2 separate regions of the Homo sapiens genome follow, and region 1 is linked to region 2. The links are contacts of gene promoters, found by promoter capture Hi-C in blood cells and fetal thymus (Javierre and others, 2016). All regions are on one chromosome and are shown on one strand. Each heading gives the region's core, a stretch centred on a gene start or on the middle of the fragment in contact. The rest is flanking DNA. Distances are from core to core; before and after follow the strand shown. Region 1 has its middle 46 kb from the start of OR4A5. Region 2 holds the start of OR4A15 (olfactory receptor family 4 subfamily A member 15).

Region 1 (6,936 bases), core at 2,646-5,145, 620 kb before region 2:
CAGCAGGTAGGAAACCCTGTTTTGGTACATTCTGGGAATGGACATTTTGGAGCTTGTTGAGTCCTACAGTGAAAAATAAAATATCTTCAGACAAAAAGTAGAAAGAAGATTTCTGATAAAGTGCTTTGTGATGTGTGCATTCATTGCACAGTGTTAAACCATGTTTTGATTCTTCAGTTAGGGAACACAATTTTTGTGCATGCTGCGAATGGATATTTGGGAGCTATTGGGGTCAATGCTGAAGAAGTAAATATCCCATGGTAAAAACTAGAAGGAAGCTCTCAGAGAAACCACTTTGTGCATTCATCTCACAGAGTTAAAAGTTTCTTTAGATTCAGCAGTTTGGAAACACTGTTTCTGTAGAATCTGTGAAAGGAAATTTGGGACCACATTGAGGCATATGGTGAAAAAGAAAATATCTTCAGGTAAAAACCAGAAAGAAATTTCAGAAAAACTGCTTTGTGATGTGTGTATTCATGTCACAGTGTTCAACCTTTGTTTTGATTCAGTAGTTTGGAAAAACTGTTTTTGTACGTTCTGCAAATGGACATTTGGGAGCTCATTGAGGCCTATGATGAAAAAGAAAATACCTTCAGATAAAACTATAAAGAAGCTTTCTGAGAAATTGCTTTTTGATGTGTACATTCATCACACAGTGCTAAATCTTCCTTTTGATTCAGCACATTGGAAACACTGTGTTTGTAGAATCTGTGAATTGGCATTAATTAGCTCATTGAAGCCAAAGTTGAAAAAGAGAATATCCCAGGATAAAAACAGAAGGAAGCTATCTCAGAAATTGCTTTGTGATATGTGCATTCATCTTGCAGAGATAGACTTTCTTTTGATTAAGCAGTTTGGAAACACTGTTTTTTAGAATATACCAATGGGCCTTTTTTTTTTAGCCCATTGAGGCCTTTTTTGAGAAAGAAAATATCTTCAGATAAAAACTGGAAAGAAGCTTTCTGTGAAACTGCTTTGTGATTTTAGCATTTATCTCACAGTTGTACACCTTTCTTTTGATTCAGCAGTTAGTAAACACTATTTTTTTCCTTCCTGCTAATGGACATTTGGGAGCTCATTGAGGCCAATGGCAAAAAAGTGAATATCCCAGGATAAAAACTAGAAGGAAGCTATCTGTAAAACTTCTTTGTGATGTGTGTATTCACGTCACAGAGTTAAACCTGTCTTTTCATTCAGCAGTTTGGAAACACTGATTTTGTAGAATCTGTGAAGGGATATTTGGGAGCACATTGAGGCCTATGGTGAAAAAGAAAGTATCTTCTGATAAAAAATAGAAAAAAGCTATCTGAGAAACTGCTTGTGATGTGTGCATTCATCTAACATAAGTAAACCTTTCTTTTCTTTCAGCAGTTTGGAAACACGGTATTTGTAGAATCTTCAAAGTGATATTCGGGAGCATATTGAGGCCTATGGTGAAAAAGGAAATTCCTTAATATAAAAACTAGAAAGAAGCTTTCTGAGAAAATGCTTTGTGATGTGTGCATTCATCTCACAGAGTTAAACCTTACTTTTGATTCAGCAGCTTGGAAACAATGTTTTTTTCCATTCTGTGAATGGACATTTGGGAGCTCATTGAGGCCAATGGCAAAAAAGCGAATATTCGAGGAAAAAAATTCTGAGGCAGCTATCTGAGAAAATGCTTTGTGATGTGTGCATTCATCTCACAGAGAGAGACGTTTCTTTTCACTAAGCAGTTTGAAAACACTGTTTTTGTAAAATATGAGAAGGGATATTTTGGACCACATTGAGGCCTAGGGTAAAAAGGAAAATATCTTCAGATAAAAACAAGAAAGAAGCTTTTTGAGAAACTGCTTTGTGATGTGTGCATTGATCTCACAAGGTAAATCTTTCTTTTGATTCAACAGTTTGGAAACACTGTTTTTGTCCATTCTGAGAATGGACATTGGGAGCTGTTTGAGGCCAATGTCAGAAATGCAATTATCCCAGGATTAAAAACTAGAAGGAAGGTATCTGATAAACTACTTTTGGATGTGTGCATTCTTCTCACAGAGTTAAAACTTTCTTTTCTTTCTGCAGTTTGGAAACACTGTTTTTGAAGATTCTCTGAAGGGATATTTGAGAACTCATTGAGGTCAACGGTGTAAAAGGGAATATCCCTGTATTAAGTAGAATGAATCTATCTGTGAAACAGCTTTGTGATGTTTGCGTTCATCTCACAAAGTTAAACCATTCTTTTGATTCAGCAGGTGGGAAACAATGTTTGTGTAGAATCTTCAAATGTACATTTGGGAGCATATTGATGCCTGTGGTGAAAAAGGAAATATCTTCCAATGAAAACAAGAATGAAGCTTTCTGATAATCTGCTTTGTTATGTGTGCATTCATCTCAGAGTGCTAAACTTTTCCTTTGATTCAGCAGTTTGGAAACACTGTTTTTGTCCATTCTGTGAATGGGTATTTGGGAGCTCATTGAGACCAATGGCAAAAAAGTGAATATCCCGAGGTATAAACTAGGAGGAAGCTATCTGAGAAACCACTTTATGATGTGTGCATTAATCTCACAGAGTTAAAACTTTCTTTTGATTCAGCAATTGGGAACCGCTGTTTCTGTAGGATCTACAAATGGACTTTTGGGTGCGTATTGAGGCATATGGTGAAAAAAAATCTTCAGATTAAAAGGAGGAATCAGCTTTCTGATAAACTGTTTTGTGCTGTGTGCGTTCAGCTCACACAGGTAAACCTTTGTTTTCATTCAGCAGTTTGGAAACACTGTTTTTGTGCAATCTGCAAAGCAATATTTGGGAGGGCATTGAGGCCTTTGGTGAAAAAGAAAATATCTTCATGTAAATACTAGAAAAACGGCTTTGTGATGTGTACATTCATCTCACAGTTAAACCTTCCTTTGATTCAGCAGTTTGGAAACACTGTTTTTCTCCATTCTACCAACGAACACTTTGGAGTGCTGGAGGCCTATCGTGTAAAAGGAAAATATCTTCAGATAAAAACTAGAATGAAACTATCTGAGAAACTCCTTTGAGATGTATGCATTCACCTGTCAGAGTTAAATCATTCTTTTCATTCAGCAGTTTGGAAACACTGTTTTTGTAGAACCTGTGAAGGGATATTTGAGAGCACGTCGAGGCATATGGTAAAAAAGAAAATATCTTCAGATAAAACATAGAAAGAAGCTTTCTGAGAAACTGCTTTGTGATGGGTGCATTAATCTCACAAAGTTAAACCTTTTATTGATTTAGCAATTTCGAAACACTGTTTTTGTCCATTCTGCAAATGTACTTTTCAGAGCTCATTGAGGCCAATGGCAAAAAAGCACATATGTCAGGAAAAAAACTGGCAGGAAGCTGTCTGTGAATCTGCTTTGTGATCTGTGCATTCATCACGTACAGTTAAACTTTTCTTTTGAATCAGCAGGTTGGAAACACTGCTTTTGTTGAATCTGAGAAGGGATATTCAGATAAAAACTAGAAAGAAGCTTTCTGAGAAACTGTTCTGTGACGTTTGTATTCATCTCACAGAGTTAAACATTTCTTTTGGTTCAGCAGTTTGAAAACACTGTTTTTGTCCATTCTGTGAGTGGACATTTGGGAGCTGATGGAGGCCAATGGCAAAAAAGTGAATATGCCAAGATGAAAACGAAATAAAGCTATCTGAGAAACTGCTTTGTGATATCTGCATTCATCTCACAAAGTTAAACTTCTCTTTTCATTCAGCTGTTTGGAAACATTGTTTTTGTAGAATCTGCGAAGGGATATTTGGGAATGCATTGTGGCCTGTTGTGAAAAAGAAAATGTCCTCTGATAATAACTAGAAAGAAGCTCTCTGAAAAACTGTTTGTGTTGTGTGCATTCATCTCACAGAATTAAGCCTTTCTTTTCATTCAGCAGTTTAAGAACCACTGTTTTTGTCCATTCTGTGAATGGATATTTGGGAGCTCATTGAGGCCAAAGGCAAAAAAGCAAATATCCCGAGATATAAACTAGAAGGAAACTATCTGAGAAACCATTTGTGATGTGTGACTTCATCTTGCAGATTTAAACCTTTCTTTTGATTAAGCAGTTTGGAAACACAGTTTTTGTACTTTGTGTGAATGGACACTTGGTAGCCCCTTGAGGCCCATGGTGCAAAAAAATACCTTCTTTTAAAAGAAGAAAGAGGCTTTCTGAGTAACTGCTTTGTGAAGTGTGCATTCAAATCACACAGTTAAACTTTCTTTTGACTCAGCAATTTGGAATGAACTGTTTTTCTACAATCTGCAAAGGTATGTTTGGGAGCACATTGAGACCTATGGTAAAAATGAAAATATCTTCAGAAAAAAGCTTGAAAGAAGCTTTCAGAGAAAATGCTTTTTGATGTGTGCATTCATCTCACAGAGTTAAAACTTTCTTTTGATTCAGCAGTTTGGAAGCACTGTTTTTGTCCATTTTGGGAATGGATATTTGGGAGCTCTTAGAGGCCAATGATGAAAAAGTGAATATCTCAGGATAAAAAGTTGAAGGAAGCTATCTGAGACAAGGCTTTGTGATATGTCCATTCATCTCATAGAGACAAACTTTTCTTTTCATTCAGTCATTTGGAAACACTGTTTTTTAGAAACTGCAAAGGAATATTTGGGAGCTCATTGAGGCCTGTGGTGAAAAAGAAAATGTCTTCAGATAAAAACTAGAAAGAAGCTTTCTGAGGAACTGCTTTGTGACGTGTGCATTAAACTCACACAGATAAAACTTTCTGTTTATTCAGCAGGTTGGAAACACTGTTTTTGTGGAATATGTGAAGGGATATTTGGGAGCACATTGAAGACTATTGTCAAAAAACATATATCCTCAGATAAAAACTAGAAAGGAGCTTTCTGAGAAACCAATTTCTGATATGTGCATTCATCTCACAGAGTTAAACCTTCCTTTTGATTCTGCAGTTTGGAAATGGTGTTTTGTACATTCTTCAATTGGACATCTTTGAGAGCATTGAAGCCTATGGTGAAAAAGAAAATATTTTCTGAGAAAAATTAGAAAGAAGCTTTCTGAGAAACTGCTTTGTGATATGTGCATTCATCTCACAGAGGTAAACCTTTCTTTTGATTCAGAAGTTTGGAAAAACTTTGCTGTAGAATCTGAAAAGGACATTTGGAGCACAGTGAGGCCTATGGTGAAAAAGAAAATACCTTCAGATAAAAACTTGAAAGAAGTTTCTGAGAAACTGCTTTGTGATGTGTGCATTTATGTCACAGGGTTAAACTTGGTTTTGATTCAGCAATTTGGAAACAGTGTTTTTGAAGAATCTGTGAATGGACAATTGGGAGCCCATTGAGGCCTATCTTGAAAAAGAAAAATCTTCAGATAAAAAGTAGAAAGAAGCTTTCTGAGAAACTGCTTCATGATGTGTGCATTTATCTCACAGTGTTAAACCTTTCTCCTGATTCCACACATTGGAAACATTGTGTTTGTAGAATCTGCAAATGGACATTTGTGAGCTCTTTGAGGCCAAAGTCAAAAAAGCGAATATTGCAGGGTGAAAAGTAGAAGGAAGCTATCCAAGAAACCAGTTTATGATGTGTGCATTCATATCACAGAGTTCAACTTTTCTCTTGATTCAGCTGTTTGGAAACACTGCTTTTCTAGAATCTGTGAAAGGACACTAGGGAGCCAGCTGAGGCCTATGGTGAAAAAGAAAATATCATCAGATAAAAACTAGAAAGAAGCTTTCTGAGAAACTGCTTTGTGATGTGTGCATTCATCTCTCACAGTTCAAACTTTGTTTTGATTCCGGAATTTGGAAACACTGTTTTTGTACATTCTGCAAATGGATATTTGGGAGCTAATTGGATCCAATGCAAAAAAATGAATATCCAAAGATAAAAACTAGAAGGAATCTATGTGAGAAACTCCTTTGTGACGTGTTTATTCATCTCACAGAGTTAAATCTTTCTTTTGACTCAGTAGTTTGGAAACACTGATTTTTAAATTCTGTGAAAGGATATTTTGGAGTGTCTCAAGGCCTATGGTGAAAAAGTAAATATCTTCTGATAAAAAGTAGAAAGAAGCTTTATGAGAAACTGCTGTGTAATGTGTGTTTTCATCTTATAGTGTTCAACCATTCTTATGATTCAGGAATTTATAAACACAGTTTTTGCCCATTCTGCAATTGGACATTTCGAAGCTCATTGAAGCCAATGGCAAAAGAGTGAATATCCCATGATAAAAAATAGTAAAAAGCTATCTGAGAAAATGCTTTGTGATGTTTCCATTCATATCTAGAGTTAAAGGATTCTTTTGATTCAGCAGTTTTGAATCACATTTTCTGTACTATTTGCAAAAGCATATTTGGAGTGTCTTGAAGCCTATGGTGAAAAAGAAAATATCTTCATCTAAAAATAAGAAGCTGTCTGAGAAGCTGCTTTGCGATTTGTGCATTCATCTCACAGAACTAAACCTTTCTTTTGTTTCAGCAGTTTGGAAACCCTGTTTTTGTACGTCCTGCGAACGGACGTTTCAGAGCTCATTGAGACCAATGGTGAAAAGTGAACATCCCAGGATAAAAACTAGAAGGAAGCTATCTGAGAAACCGCTGTGTGATGTGTGCATTAATCTCACAGAGTTAAATCTTTCTTTATATTGAGCAGTTTGGAAACACTGTTTTAGTAGAATCTGCAAAGGGATATTTGGGAGCACATTGAGGCCTATTGTGAAAAAAGAAAAATCTTCAGATACAAACTAGAAAGAAGCTTTCTGAGAAACTGCTTTGTGAAGTGTGCATTCATCTCACAGAGTTAAATCTTTCTTTTCACTCAGTGAATATCCCAGGACAAAAACTAGATGGATGCTATCTGAGAATCTGCTTTCTGATGTGTTCATTCATCTCTCAGAGTTCAACCATTGTTTTCATTCAGCAGTTTGGAAACGTTATTGTTTTCAGAATTTCTGAAGGGATATTTGTGAGCTCA
Region 2 (6,928 bases), core at 1,247-3,746:
ATGATTTACTTGTTCTCATTGAATATGTTAAGAAATTTGAAGAATATTACAAATGTTTCAATCAGATATATACTTTTTCATAAAATACATTGATAAAATACAGAATTTTGAATCATTCAAAGTGATAATTTTCGGTAGTTTAGAATAATAGTAATGCTCTTAAGAACATTTTAATAAGTGAAATATCTATTGAGTACTTAAAATGATATAAACAAATAAGTGTTATAAGTACAAAATGTCAACAGGAGAGACTGTCCTACTGGAAGTTTTCTCTTGAATGCTCAGATAGCTCCTATAAATTATGAGTACTCATTTCCATTATAAATGCAGAATAGTTTCATAATTGCCAGTAAAGGTATTTAATTATGTATATATGCAACAAAATATCAGAATCCCCAAAGACAGAACTTCCAAGGAAGCTAATCTTACCTACTGACCTACCCTAAAGTTTAAAATCTGATTTTCTTATTTTTCTTTGGCCCAAATGTATAAAGATTCCTAGAAGCAAGTGCTGATACTGATGCTGAGTTACCTTTCTGGCCACCTCCTGATTGACAGCTCTGGGAATCTGATATTCTTCTGCTCTCAACTAATTCAGTTCCCTCACCCAAAATGCTTACCAATATTTCATTCAGCTTGTGGCCTTTACTTATTTCCATATGCCTTTACTAAGTTATCTCTTATTTTATTTATGTCTACACTTTTACTCTCCCTCTGATCCTTAAAGATGTCTTGGCTTGCTTTGATGCATAGATAGAATAATCTCCTGACTATCACAAATGATCATCACTAACACAGAGCATATTTAAAATAATCCTGCTAATACAAACTTGTGTATATGACACATAAAATTGGGCCTGGATCACATCTGAAAGGCCCAACAGATTATTTGATTTATTTTACTCAAGTGAGAATGAATATTTTGTATTTGACATAAATTCCAATAACCAAGAACTAATAATATGAAAAAACCCTTATGTATTAATTACTTTAATAATTAAATAACCTTTAGCACATACTAAACCTGGTTTATATAAAAATGGTCTACCAGCAAAAATGTCATCATGTTGTCTAGGATACAGGTGTCAATGATAAGAATCCAGAAACTCATTTATCTGGAAGGATCATTACATTTCCAGTAAGGAATTATAAGGTGGGATGTGATTTTCCTGAGATGACTAAGCTCAAAATCAACTAATATTTTCAGATTTTTAGTATAGAATTATTTCTACTACACCATGATTTTGCCTGGAGTCTTTATTTTTGACATTCCAAATTAATCTGTAATTAGCCATGATCAGTCTTAAACAAATGCGAAAAGTGGGGAAAATGTCTCTGCATTGCCCCCCGACTTTGATTTGTATTACCTGTTTTTTTCCTCTAATGACCTACGTTGTAATAGATGAAAATTCAGTGTGTGTGTGTGTGTATATGTGTGTGTGTGTGTGTAGTTTCTTTTCAAATAAAACTTTGCTTTCATTGGACTTTCATGGCTGGCAAGATTTTAATACATTTATTTCCACATACTTGCTCTCTGAGCTTTGAAATTTGGTTTAATAAAATTTAATAAACATTTAGTGAGCACTCACAATGTGTCTGGTTCTTTGAGCGAGTTATTCCTGGATTCTAGGAGCTCACAGTACAGTGTTTCAGAATGGCAAATATCTAAACATTAGCCTGTAATCTTATGCTCCATATACTGGGTACTACTTTACATAAATATATAAGTAAAGTCAACACATATGAGGCTGTTTTCTTGATAGATCATGGAAGGACAAAATCTGTTCAAAAAAAGATAAATACTATATAAATATCAAAAATACAGTCTTTTTAAGGGATGTTCTCAAGAAAGCAGCTCTATTTTGATCTGTAATAGATTATCTCACATATATATTCACTCACATATACCTTCCAGTTAAAATCATGAAGCCTCATCATTGCAGTTAAAGCAATACATTTGTATTTTTTAAAATTCTTTTTTTAAAATTATACTTTAAGTTCTGGAGTATATGTGCAGAATGTGCAGCTTTGTTACATAGGTACACATGTGCCATGCTGATTTGCTGCACCAATCAACCCATCACCTGCATAGCGTATTTCTCCTAATGCTATCACTCCCCTAGCTCCCCACTCCCCAACAGGCCCCGGTGTGTGATGTTCCCCTCCCTGTGTCCATGTGTTCTCCTTGTTCAACTCCCACTTATGAATGAGAACATGCAGTGTTTTGTTTTCTGTTCTTGTGATAGTTTGCTGAGAATGATGGTTTCCCGCTTCATCCATGTCCCATTTGTAAAAATGAAAAGGATAATTGTGGGAGGATATTCTAAACACTTCTTTTCTAATGAGCTGCTCTGTGTGAGGCCCTGGTCAGGGAAAACGTGGTCGATAAGGCATCACATTTTTGACATGGAGCTTCTGACAAATAATCTCAAATTTATCACTGACCCTTTTGTTTGTAGGCTCCGACACCTGAGTCCAACACCTTCAGAAGAACACATGAAAAATAAGAACAATGTGACTGAATTTATCCTCTTAGGGCTCACACAGAACCCTGAGGGGCAAAAGGTTTTATTTGTCACATTCTTACTAATCTACATGGTGACGATAATGGGCAACCTGCTTATCATAGTGACCATCATGGCCAGCCAGTCCCTGGGTTCCCCCATGTACTTTTTTCTGGCTTCTTTATCATTCATAGATACCGTCTATTCTACTGCATTTGCTCCCAAAATGATTGTTGACTTGCTCTCTGAGAAAAAGACCATTTCCTTTCAGGGTTGTATGGCTCAACTTTTTATGGATCATTTATTTGCTGGTGCTGAAGTCATTCTTCTGGTGGTAATGGCCTATGATCGATACATGGCCATCTGTAAGCCTCTTCATGAATTGATCACCATGAATCGTCGAGTCTGTGTTCTTATGCTGTTGGCGGCCTGGATTGGAGGCTTTCTTCACTCATTGGTTCAATTTCTCTTTATTTATCAGCTCCCTTTCTGTGGACCCAATGTCATTGACAACTTCCTGTGTGATTTGTATCCCTTATTGAAACTTGCTTGCACCAATACCTATGTCACTGGGCTTTCTATGATAGCTAATGGAGGAGCGATTTGTGCTGTCACCTTCTTCACTATCCTGCTTTCCTATGGGGTCATATTACACTCTCTTAAGACTCAGAGTTTGGAAGGGAAACGAAAAGCTTTCTACACCTGTGCATCCCACGTCACTGTGGTCATTTTATTCTTTGTCCCCTGTATCTTCTTGTATGCAAGGCCCAATTCTACTTTTCCCATTGATAAATCCATGACTGTAGTTCTAACTTTTATAACTCCCATGCTGAACCCACTAATCTATACCCTGAAGAATGCAGAAATGAAAAGTGCCATGAGGAAACTTTGGAGTAAAAAAGTAAGCTTAGCTGGGAAATGGCTGTATCACTCATGAGAATGTGACATTCATTCTTTCACAGAAGCAAGGAACAATTTCACTATCCTATCTGATTACATTTCTGTTATCATTTCCTTTTAGTTTTTTAGCTTACTTATTCTGAAGCAGTCATATAAATTAATATTTGTCTAGGTGTAATATGTTACACCCATTACAGACCAAGAAAATTGCATAGGTTTAACAGTGTGTACTGTTTTTGTAATCATACTGTGTTAAGATTCTTTGGTTGATAACAATATTTAGTTTTATTTCAAGCTCTTTTTTATTTAAAAATCATTTATTTATTTTTCTTTTTTATGTATTTTAAATTGTCAATAATTGGGTATATTTATGGAGTACAATGTGATGTTCTGATCTATGTATACATTATAGAAAGATTTCATCAGTCTAATGAATATATCTGTCACCTCCCCAACATTGATTTTTTGTGTGTGGTAACATCAAAAATCTATTCTTCTTTATGGTCTGTGATATCTTCCTGGCACATATAAATGTGATCTAAGAAAATTTGTTCCCTTTCATCCAAGAGAATGATATATTAAACGTGAAAATTTAGATTGTTAAAAGAATGTTAATCTAACAGTACAAATAAATGTCTTGGTGAAATTAATGAATTTAAAGTTTCATAGATATGTTGATAGCTGAGGATAAATCAATGAGAAATAAACTTTGTTAATTTCATACTGTGATGGAGTTAGGATGTCCAGATAGCATATAGTTGTTTTTGTATAATTTGACCAGTTTTTGAACAGAAAAATTGTTTAATCTCATTCTGTATACCTAGATCAATTGACCTCCCCCAATAGCTGAAATAGGTGCTTAAGCCACTCATATATAACAGTAGATTCCACAGAATCTACCCACATTAAACTCTCTGGGTGCACTTTAAAAACACGCACACACACAATGAATGTCAAACATTTTTCAAACGGATTGTTTTGCTTTACACAATAAGTAGCTTTCAGAATCTCTGTGAACTATATGATCTCATTGACTGAAGTGATACAAAGTGATACATCAAAGGTGTCTTCTTTGTTTAGAGTTGCTCTACAGTGGGTTTAGAGAACTAATACGGTATTACAAAGATAATTTTTAATGGCTATGGCATAACATATTGCCTTGTTGAAGTCAACCTACACCATCTTTATTAAGGTAAAAAGTTGGTATTTTTTTCTTTTTCCTTTCCTCAGTTTATAATAGATGTACTTAATGCACTTAGCAATATTAATGCTTCCAGTTATTCAACACATATTGAAAAAAAAATAAGCCATGAAATTGTATTTATTCTTTAGTTAAGGAAATGAAAAGTGCTGTAGATTTTTTAGTAAGAAAGGAATCTCATATCAGGAATTAGAACTTCATAATCATTGGAATTGGGGAATCCAACATCTGGATACTGGAGTGAGCACAGTGGGATTGAAGTTTCACCACCCAAGCCATGATGCAGAGATGAGGAAGCTAAACTCAGGAAGAAGGTCCTCCTGTCCTCTGCACATGCTTCTCAAAGTCCTCTCCTGCCCTGAGTTTTATATGAAGATAACTTTCTCTAAAATTAGAACAGCAGCAGAAGCAAGAGGGGAAGATAACACACAATTATAAATCACAAGTTGTCATGAGAACTCACTGTCATGTTGACAGCACTAAGGGGGGATGGTATTAAACTACGAGAAACTTCCCCCATAATCTACTTAACAACAGGCCCCACCTACACTTTGGATATTCCATTTAGACATGAGCTTTGGGTGGGGACACAGATCAAAACCATATTATTCTGCTCTTGGCCCCTCTAAAATGTCATGATCTTTTCAACTTTCAAAATACAATCATGCCTTCCCAACATTCCCCCAAAGTGTTAACCCATTCCAACATTAACTAAAAAGTCCATGGTCCAGTCTTATGTGAGACAAGACTTGTCCCTTCCCCCTGAGCCTGTAAAATCAAAAGCAAGCCTGTAAAATCAAAAGCAAGCTAGTTACTTCCAAGATACAAAAAAGGTATAGGAATTGGTTAAATACTTTCATTCCAAAATGAAGAAATCAGCCAAAAAAAAAAGGGGGTTACAGGCCCCATACAAGTCTGAAGTCTAGCAGGGCAGTCATTAAATCTTAAAATTCCAAATCAATATCCTTTGACACCATTCCTAACATCTGGGGCATACTAGTGCAATGGGTAGTCTTCCAAGGCCTTGGGTAGCTCCACTCATGTGGCTTTACTGGTTTCAGACCCCAAAGTTACTCTTTAATTTCCTCTGATGCTCTTGAGGGGGACTGTGACCCTTCTAGGTGCAGGGTGCAAGCTGCTGGTGGATCTATCATTTTGGGGTCTGGAGGATGGTAGCCCTCTTCTCATAGTTCCACTAGGCAGTTCCCCAGTAGGTACTCTGTGTGTTTGCTCCAACCCCACATTTCCACTCTGCACTGCCCTAGTACAGATCCTTTGTGATGCTCAACCCCTGAAGCAGGCTTCTCTCTGGGATTCCAGGCTTTTTGATACATCCTTTGAATCCTAGGTGGAGGCTCCCAAGCCTCATCTGTTGCAGTATGTGCACCTGCAGGCTTAACACCACATGGAAGCCTTAAAAGCTCACAGCTTTCATCCTCTGAAGCAGTGGCCTGAGATGTATTTGGGGCCCATTTAGCCACAGCTAGACCTGGAGTGGCTGAGATGCACACTGCAGTGTCCCACGGTTGCTCAAGGCAACAGGGCTCTGGGCTTGGCCCTGAAAACCATTCAGTTCTCCTAGGTCTCCTGGCCTGTGATGGGAGGGGCTGCTGAAAAAGTGTCTGAAATGCCTTTGAGGACTTTTTCCCACTGTCTTGCCTGTTAGTACTTGGTTCCTATTATGCAGATTTCTGCAGTCTGCTTGAATTTCTTCCCAGAAAATGGGCTTTTCTTTTCTATCATGTGGCCAGACTGCAAATTTTTCAAACTTTTACACTCTGCTTCCCACTAGTTCCAGTTTCAGGTCATTTCTGTGCTCATTCATATGAGTTATAGGTTGTTAGACACAGCAAGGCTAAATCTTGAATGCTTTGCTGCTTAGAAATTTCTCCTGCAACATACCCTAAATCATCACTCTCAAGTTTAACCTTTGACAGATCCCTAAAGCAGGGGCACAATGCTGCCAGACTGTTGAAGCTCGGCAAAAGTGACCTTTATTCCATCCAGTTGCCATTAAGTTTTTCATCTCTAGGAAGTTCAAAACTTTCTCTCACCTTCCTGGCTTCTTCTGAGCCCTCTACACTCTTTCAGCCTCTGCCTGTTACCCAATTCCAAAGCTGCTTCCACATTTTCAAGTATCTTTATAGAAATGTCCCACTCTTTGGTGCTAATTTTCTGTATTAGTCCATCCTTACATTGCTGTAAAGAAATATCAGAGAGACTCTGTAATTTATAAAGAAAAGAGGTTTAATTGGCTCATTTTTCCACAGGCTGTAAGTGAAAGCAAGATGCTCGCATCTCCTCAGCTTCTAGAGGGACCTCA

The links. The method cuts DNA at HindIII sites, captures the fragments that hold promoters and counts their contacts. A CHiCAGO score of 5 or more calls a contact.
Region 1: a contact is called between a fragment that was not itself captured here and the fragment with the promoter of OR4A15 in region 2, in 4 of 17 cell types (M2 macrophages, erythroblasts, fetal thymus and 1 more). The highest score is 7.9, in M2 macrophages.

The regions. Positions count from the first base shown.
Region 1 is chr11:54,748,937-54,755,872 of GRCh38, forward strand. No RefSeq gene overlaps it. Among named protein-coding and RNA genes, the nearest start is that of OR4A5, 46 kb to the left of the region's middle. The HindIII fragment of the contact is 844 bases long and covers 3,474-4,317 here.
Region 2 is chr11:55,365,478-55,372,405 of GRCh38, forward strand. It overlaps OR4A15 (olfactory receptor family 4 subfamily A member 15), which reads left to right and starts at 2,497. Exons shown (of 1, transcript NM_001005275.2): 1 at 2,497-3,441. The coding sequence starts at 2,497. The coding sequence ends at 3,441. The HindIII fragment of the contact is 3,478 bases long and covers 1-3,194 here.